Linked DNA regions of Homo sapiens: region 1 is linked to region 2. The links are contacts of gene promoters, found by promoter capture Hi-C in blood cells and fetal thymus (Javierre and others, 2016). All regions are on one chromosome and are shown on one strand. The core of a region is centred on a gene start or on the middle of the fragment in contact, and the rest is flanking DNA. Distances in the headings are between cores, read along the strand shown. Region 1 overlaps RFPL3S (RFPL3 antisense). Region 2 holds the start of SLC5A1 (solute carrier family 5 member 1).

Region 1 (3,443 bases), core at 928-3,427, 320 kb before region 2:
AGGCTCTATTTCTCATTTCCTTTCTGCCCGTCTCTCTGCCTTCCTTGGTCCATAGAAGAGGATGGCCCAGGAGAAGCTCAATTCATGCTTGTTAACCAACCACATCCATAAGTTCTAGCCCTTTGTTCATGTCACCACCAATGAACTGACAGTCATGTTGTGTCCTTTCAGTTCCCCCAGAAGATCAATGGAAGGTGGATTCCAAAGAGTGGGCAAGTGAGGACCCCTTCTCTGTTACCAAGGTAAAGTAGCCTGTCTTTGCCTAACATGTGTGTAATTTTCTTGGTTATTTCATTTTTCAATTGATATCAGATAGAGAAAAATGATCAGGTGCGTTATAGGTGTTAGATGATGTTTCCTTGGGGATGGAGGGGTGCACCCCACCCACTGACACCTGATTGAAGAGGACATCTGGAATTGGCAGGGCTGGGTCACACACAGCATGTTAGGGGACACTTTCCTCTGCAACAAGCTTTCCACTTTAGATTAAGTATTTTGTAACTGCTACTTCAAAATGGTCTTGACAAAGATTTTTTTTTTTTTTTGAGACGGAGTCTTGCTGCGTAGCCCAGGCTGGAGTGCAGTGGTACGATCTCGGCTCACTGCAAGCTCCGCCTCCCGGGTTCACGCCATTCTCCTGTCTCAGCCTCCTGAGTAGCTGGGACTACAGGTGCCCGCCACCACATCTGGCTAATTTTTTTTTTTTTTTGTATTTTTAATAGAGACAGGGTTTCACCATGTTAGCCAGGATGGTCTCGATCTCCTGACCTCGTGATCTACCTCCCTCGGCTTGCCAAAGTGCTGGGATTACAGGCGTGAGCCACTGAGCACGGCCAACAAAGATACTTTTCAACAAAAGCTATTGTGCTTTCTACAGATGAACTCTACTCTAGATGTTGGGGCTTTAGACTTAAACATTCTTTCCCATCTTGGTTACCAAGAGCCCCTAAGAGAACGAAAGACCTGTGCAAACAGCCCACAGTATGATCTCATCCTCAGAGTGTTTTCTTTCTTCTAATTGCAGGTGACCCCAAGGAACACAGTAAATGGTATGTATTCTGGAATCATTCACCAGGTGTAAAAAAAAAAAGTGTATGTATAAGAAATGTGGAACTTAATTGCTGACTTTCATCTAGACCATCTCCATGATCCAAGACACCTGGAAAGAACGAGAATTTGGGGTGAACTAAAACTGGTTTTTCAGGTGACAAACTCTTGTCACCTATGTGCAATCCCTGGAAACAGGCATATTCACTTTAGGTGGGGTGGATTTGTGTGCACCAAGGCAGAAGGTGTCTATGTGTAGGTCTGTGTGATGTGTTTGTGAATGTGTGTCTAACACACAGGTGAGTGCAAGCTTAAGGGGTCTGCACACTCAATGAACTTACACACAGTATTGAAAGTAAGACTGGACTTCATTATTTATACATTTTCAATATATGGTCTCTGTAACATAAAATTAATGATGTAATACCATAGAATATTTCCCTAGTATTGAATCTTGTCTCTCAATATTGAAAGAGTTGCTTAAAAGCACATGAGAAGTGCTACTCAACACATGATATGTACTGTAGCTGCAGTTAAAGCATTCATTTGGGAAGTTATAAGACTTATGACTAAACTGATGACTTATGCTCTAAACTCAGGCATGAGCTTTGTAAGACAATTGAAGGGGAGGATAAAAGACCTCATTTGCCTCCTCTCTTCAGTGGTTTTATGTGCCTTGTGGAGTGTGGTTATGTGCCTTGTGGAGTGCAGTTACACAGGAAGTTGATGGAGTAAACACAAAAAAGAATTGAACAGGTTAATTGAATCCATAAGACCGTGGTGAGGTTAGTCAATAAGACGGGTCATTTATTTTTTAACTTTTATTTTATTTTTTATTTATTTATTTTTTGAGACGGAGTCTTGCTCTGTTGCCCAAGCTGGAGTGCAGTGGCACGATCTCGGCTCACTGCAAGCTCCGCCTCCTGGGTTCACACCATTCTTCTGCCTCAGCTTCCCAAGTAGCTGGGACTACAGGCGCCCACCACCATGCCCGGCTAATTTTTTGTATTTTTAGTAGAGATGGGGTTTCACCGTGTTAGCCAGGATGGTCTCGATCTCCTGACCTCATGATCCACCTGCCTTGGCTTCCCAAAGTGCTGGGATTACAAGCATGAGCCACCGCGCCCGGCACAATTTTTTTTTTTTTTTTTTTTGAGATGGAGGCTCACTCTGTCGCCCAGCTCCATCCATGTTCCTGCAAAGGACATCATCTCATTCTCTTTTATGGCTGCATAGTATTCCATGGTGTATATGTACCACATTTTCTTTATCCAGTATGTCATTGATGGGCATTTGGGTCTTTGCTATTATGAATAGCGCTGCTGTGAACATATGTGTGGATGTCTTTAGGGTACAATGATTTATATTTCTTTGGGCATATAACCAGTAATGGGATGGCTGGGTTGAATGACATTTCTGTTTTTAGCTCTTTGAGGAATCACCACACTACTTTCCACAATGGTTGAACTAATTTACACAGTCTCTAAGAGTATATAAGTGCTCCCTTTTCTCTGCAACTTTGCCAGTATCTGCTGTTTTTTGACTTTTTAGTAATAGCCGTTCTGACTGGTGTGAAATGGTATCTCATTTTGTCCCACCAGTTTTTTTAACTGTTAAGTTCAGGGGTGCATGTGCAGGTTTGTTACATAGGTCAACTTGTGTCATGGGGATTTCTTGTGCAGATTATCTTGTCACCTGGGTTTTAAGCCTAGCGCCCATTAGTTATTTTTCCTGATCCTCCCTCCTCCCACCGTCCCCCATCCGATAGCCCCGTGTGTGTTGTTCAGCTCTGTGTGTCCCTGTGAGATTGGTCATTTTTAGGTCAAATTTTACATAGTATGTTCTTTATGTGCTTTCTTCTAGAACTTTCTATGTTTTATTAACTAGGCAACTGTTGCTAAAATCTCTACTAAAAGTGGGCACATCTTTATAATAACAAATAGAAGCTTGTAAAGTTGTGATACCTTAAATTTTGCCAAGTTATGAGGGCTTTGCCTGAGACCTGGATGACAGAGTTGTGTAAGAATGTGGGTTCCTCTGAAGACTGTTGAATTTTCTGAGAATAAAGATCTTATTTGTTTCTATTACATAGGGTTAAAGCAGGGACACGGTGGTCTCTAAGGCACATAGGAGGCTCTGAGAACGGAAAATGAGATCTTTCCAAACAGTAATGCAAATCTCCATTTCTGTATTTAGGATCCCTCTGAGAGCAAGCAGGGGTTCACAGAAGGATATAGCTCACTAAGAGAAACAAATAATGGGAAACACAGGTTTATAGCATTTAGAAGAAAATACCAAGATGAACATATTAATATCTAAAGTGAGTTTTGATGAAAACAATATAAAAATTTTTAAAACTCAAAATGTAAATATCAGGACCATGTGACTTACTTTTA
Region 2 (3,832 bases), core at 295-2,794:
TGCGTATCCTCACCACAACCATGGGGGAGTCATTAGAATAGATAAGAGTGTACCTATGTTAAAGTTGAGTAAACTGGAGGCTGAGGGAAGTTACCCAATGTTCCATGATTTGAACCATGTGAAAGCCAGTAGTGAACTTGAGTATCCTGGCTCCTAGTTGGTCAGTTTCCACTATGTCTGGGAAGCTGAGAGTATTGAGGAAAAGTCAGCCATACTGACCCCATGTGACACTTGGGAGGCATTCTGCCACATCTAGTTTCTACAATTCCTTTGGAAAAAAAAAAAAAAACACTTCCTTTTGTCCCTGAAAAAGCTCTGTGTCCACAGAAGTGTTCATGCCTACCTTCCTCTCCTCTAAGTCAAAAGAGTTCAACACAATCACCAGCTGCTACAGCAGCCTCCCTGGGCTTATCACCTCCACCTCCATAACAATCACGAGAATGGCTGGAACATCTGCAAACATTTTATATATTTTTTGTAATTTTTTTTATTTTTGTAGAGACAGAGTCTCACTATGTTGCCCAGGCTGATCTCGAACTCCTGGACTCAAGCAATCCTCCCACCTTGGCCTCTCAAAGTGCTAGGATTACAGGAGTGAACCACCACAGTCGGTCCTGCACACTTTTAAAACATCTCCTCCTCTAGTTGTTGGGCCTGCCACAGTCTGTCATAAGTGAAATGCCCATGTTCCAGGTGGCTGAGAACAAGTTTCTCTGGTTTGCTGTGTCCCCAGAGTCCCAAAAGGAGACACACACATTTCCCTCTCCCCAGTGCCAGGTCACCCCCAGGTCTTCCTCCTCCTCCTTTTCCACCCATCTTTCTCATCTCTAACTTGATCCAGCCCCTGGGATCCTCATGCACAAGGCCTCTGGGTTAGCCTCTCCCAGGAGTGGGGCATGGGTCAGCATCCCTCTGTCTGCCACCTCAGCATCCCCATCTCTGGGGCTGGCAGAGGCTGTGGCTTTCCCACTCCACACCATTTCTTTCCCATCTGAAACTGGATGACTAAAAGGTAGGACAGTAGTCACCTGCTAGAGGCTCATCTCCCAAGCCCCAGAGCCCTCCCTGTAGCTCTAAGCAGCCGCTTTCCTGCCCCTTACACTTTCCAGCGGTCTCTTCAAACCCCCACCTTCCTTCTCTGCTCACAGGCTCAGGTATCCTCCTTGGTCCTTCCTGGCAGGCTGCCCTGGGCACCCTTCTCACTTCTGCTCATCCTTGCTTGCCCTCCTCCCTTCATGCTGTGCCTCTGAGTGCTTCTAAAGTGCTTCCAAGTCATTTCCTCTCCCCTCCACCGACACTTAAGCCTACTGCCCCTTGCAGCTCAGCGAGGCCATTGCTCCTCCTCTGTGCGCACCCTCCCCACCCGCATCCCAGAACCCGCTGCATACCCACAGTCCGACGGCCATCACTACCACGAAGTAGATAACGATGATGGAGATATCGGCTGCATTGCGAATGAGCTCGTGGGTCTCAACAGGCCGGGTGACCGCGGTGGTCTTGGGGCTCCAGGTGCTACTGTCCATGGTGGCAGCGTTGCGTCCTTCCCTCTCGCCAGGGCCGCTAGCTCCTTATACGGCCTCCTGGTTAATGATCAGCACCAGGGGAGGGGACCTGGGACTTTGAGGGAGCAGGGCAGTAGCGCGGGGCCCCTGCGATGCCTTGCGGCTGCACCGTCAGGAAGCAGCTCCGGGCGTGGAGCCCAGGAAGGAGCACCCGGCTGAGCTGTTGGCTGGGGCGGCGGCCCGGCAGGTAAGAGCTGTCCTGCGAATGGGGAGGGGCCAGCCAGGGGGTGGTGCCCGCCTGGCACAAAGGCCCACTGTACTCCCACAGCAGGCACCAGCAGCGCCACCACACCTGCCCTTGCCAGAGCTGGAGTGGCTCCATTGAGGGAACAGGCCACCTGGGGCTAGGAGCCTAGAGGCTTCAGATCACCTGCCACCCATCCTTGGACTAGTCCCATGCCTTCTAAGGACTTGGCTTGTCCGCTTGTAAAATGGGTGCAGCACTCTTCTGAAGAATCAGTCAAGTCTTGTTCTCCCTGGAGAACATTCTTGAGAGGACAGAGAGTTGCTGGGTGTCACTGGAAAAAAACCAGCACAATCCTAATCTCTTGGCCACAAGGACAGCCACCCACCCACCCACATTCCTGACTCCCCCTCCACAGCCTGCAGCCCCCAGGTCCACTGTTACCCCCACTGTAAAGAGGAAGAAACTGAGACTGGGGGAAGGGATCTCACCGGGAGCTATTTCCTTGCCCTGTCCCTCTCCCAGTATTGATGCAGGGCCCTCCAGAGGCAGCAGAAGGGAAGATACTAGAGAACCCTTTCCAAGGAGTTCATCAAACCCTGACCTTCCTGGGGACTCAGCTCACCCATCTGGAAACACATGTCTAAACAGCAAGCCAGGGCTCAGAACAGAGATGACCAAGAGAGGAGGCATGACTTGCCCAAGGTCATACAGGAAACCAGCAGCAGAGCTGGCCCTGCAGCCCATGCCAGGGTTCAGAGGGAGGGCTGTGGGGTATTCTCAGGGGCTGGCTCTAGAGGCCACAGAGCAGCCAAAAGTGACTGTTCCCAAAGAGGGGGGCCTTGCTCTGATGGGGAGGTGCAGGGAGGCAGAGGACCACAGAAACCCTGCCAGGACTCTGGTCTGCCTCAGGCCCTCCCTGCCCACTGCTAGACAACCACCCACTGCCTAAATGTGAGCATCCTGTTCCTTTGCACTCAATGCTTCAGAGGTCTGCCTCCCCTCCTTCCGTATCAGCAACTGTTCTTCCCACTGAAGCTGCAGACAAAGAATCATTATTTGGACAGCATCCCCACAGGTCTTCCCCATTTCCCCCACACATCCCCCAGGACTGCAAACTATATAAGGCTATGTCCTGGGGCCAGTATAATGCCTGCCCAAAGGAAGCAGGAATTCTTACGAGGAACCTGAAAGCAGGGGCTGTCTGCTGTGGATGCCTCCCAAGACTTAGAGCTCAGCTGTCAGCTGCAGCTTGGAGCAACTCGCCTTTTGCCTGTGTTCATTCATTCCTGCATTCAGCCAAGTTTTTTCACCTGAATGTATCCCAGGAAGAGTCCCTGCCCTTAGGAAGCTTCTGTTCTAGTCTGGAAGTGAACCCACCCACAGGAAAAGTCCAGCCCTGAACCCAGGTGCAGGTGCAGGCAGCCAGGCCATGCCAAGTTCCAAAAGTACAAGGCATAGAAAGTGAAGCGAGCAGGAGAGAGAACTGGAAGTACTAAAGGACTTCAAAGGAGGGACAGAGCCATTCTTTGATCTTTTAGGAGAGCCAAACATAAATGGGAAAAGAAAGGAAAGGATGGTGCCCAGGTAGAGGTCAGAAAATGCATCCATTCATTCATTCATTTATTCTTACAACAAAAGAGCAGCTTCTATGTGCCAGATCATATGTACCGACCCTGGAATACAGCTATGAAAAGACACAGAGCTCTTGCCCTCACAGAGCTTCCTGACCAATGACAGAGATAGATCAGCATCAAAGATGAGACAACTACCTGTGAAATTACCATTGTGACACATGCTTTGAAGGAGAAATACTAATACCCCAAATGCCTACCAAGGAATTCAACCTGGGGATAAGGTGAGGTTAGAGTAAGTTCTGTGAAAGCTCTGGTTTGAGCAGGGACCTGAAAGAAAAGGAGGAATAGGCCAAGTAAGCTGGGAGTGAGGGACATTCCAGGAGATGACAAGCATGAGGAGTAAGGAAGGGGTTACAATATTTAGGGAGGGACTAGCTGGGGCTACAAATAAACATATATAAAAAGCATGTCACCTGTAAGAAACTCCCTACCACAGTCATTCCCCAGGC

Evidence for each region. Contacts are between HindIII fragments. The CHiCAGO score rates a contact against its expected background, and 5 or more counts as called.
Region 1: a contact is called between a fragment that was not itself captured here and the fragment with the promoter of SLC5A1 in region 2, in 2 of 17 cell types (M1 macrophages and M2 macrophages). The highest score is 5.8, in M1 macrophages.

Annotation. Positions count from the first base shown.
Region 1 is chr22:32,365,296-32,368,738 of GRCh38, reverse strand. RFPL3S (RFPL3 antisense) reads left to right here. Exons shown (of 5, transcript NR_104232.1): 3 at 172-242; 4 at 1,025-1,049. Among named protein-coding and RNA genes, the nearest start is that of RFPL3S, 4.2 kb to the left of the region's middle. The HindIII fragment of the contact is 1,636 bases long and covers 1,360-2,995 here.
Region 2 is chr22:32,040,973-32,044,804 of GRCh38, reverse strand. It overlaps SLC5A1 (solute carrier family 5 member 1), which reads right to left and starts at 1,544. Exons shown (of 15, transcript NM_000343.4): 1 at 1,389-1,544. The coding sequence starts at 1,523. The HindIII fragment of the contact is 8,724 bases long and covers 1-3,099 here.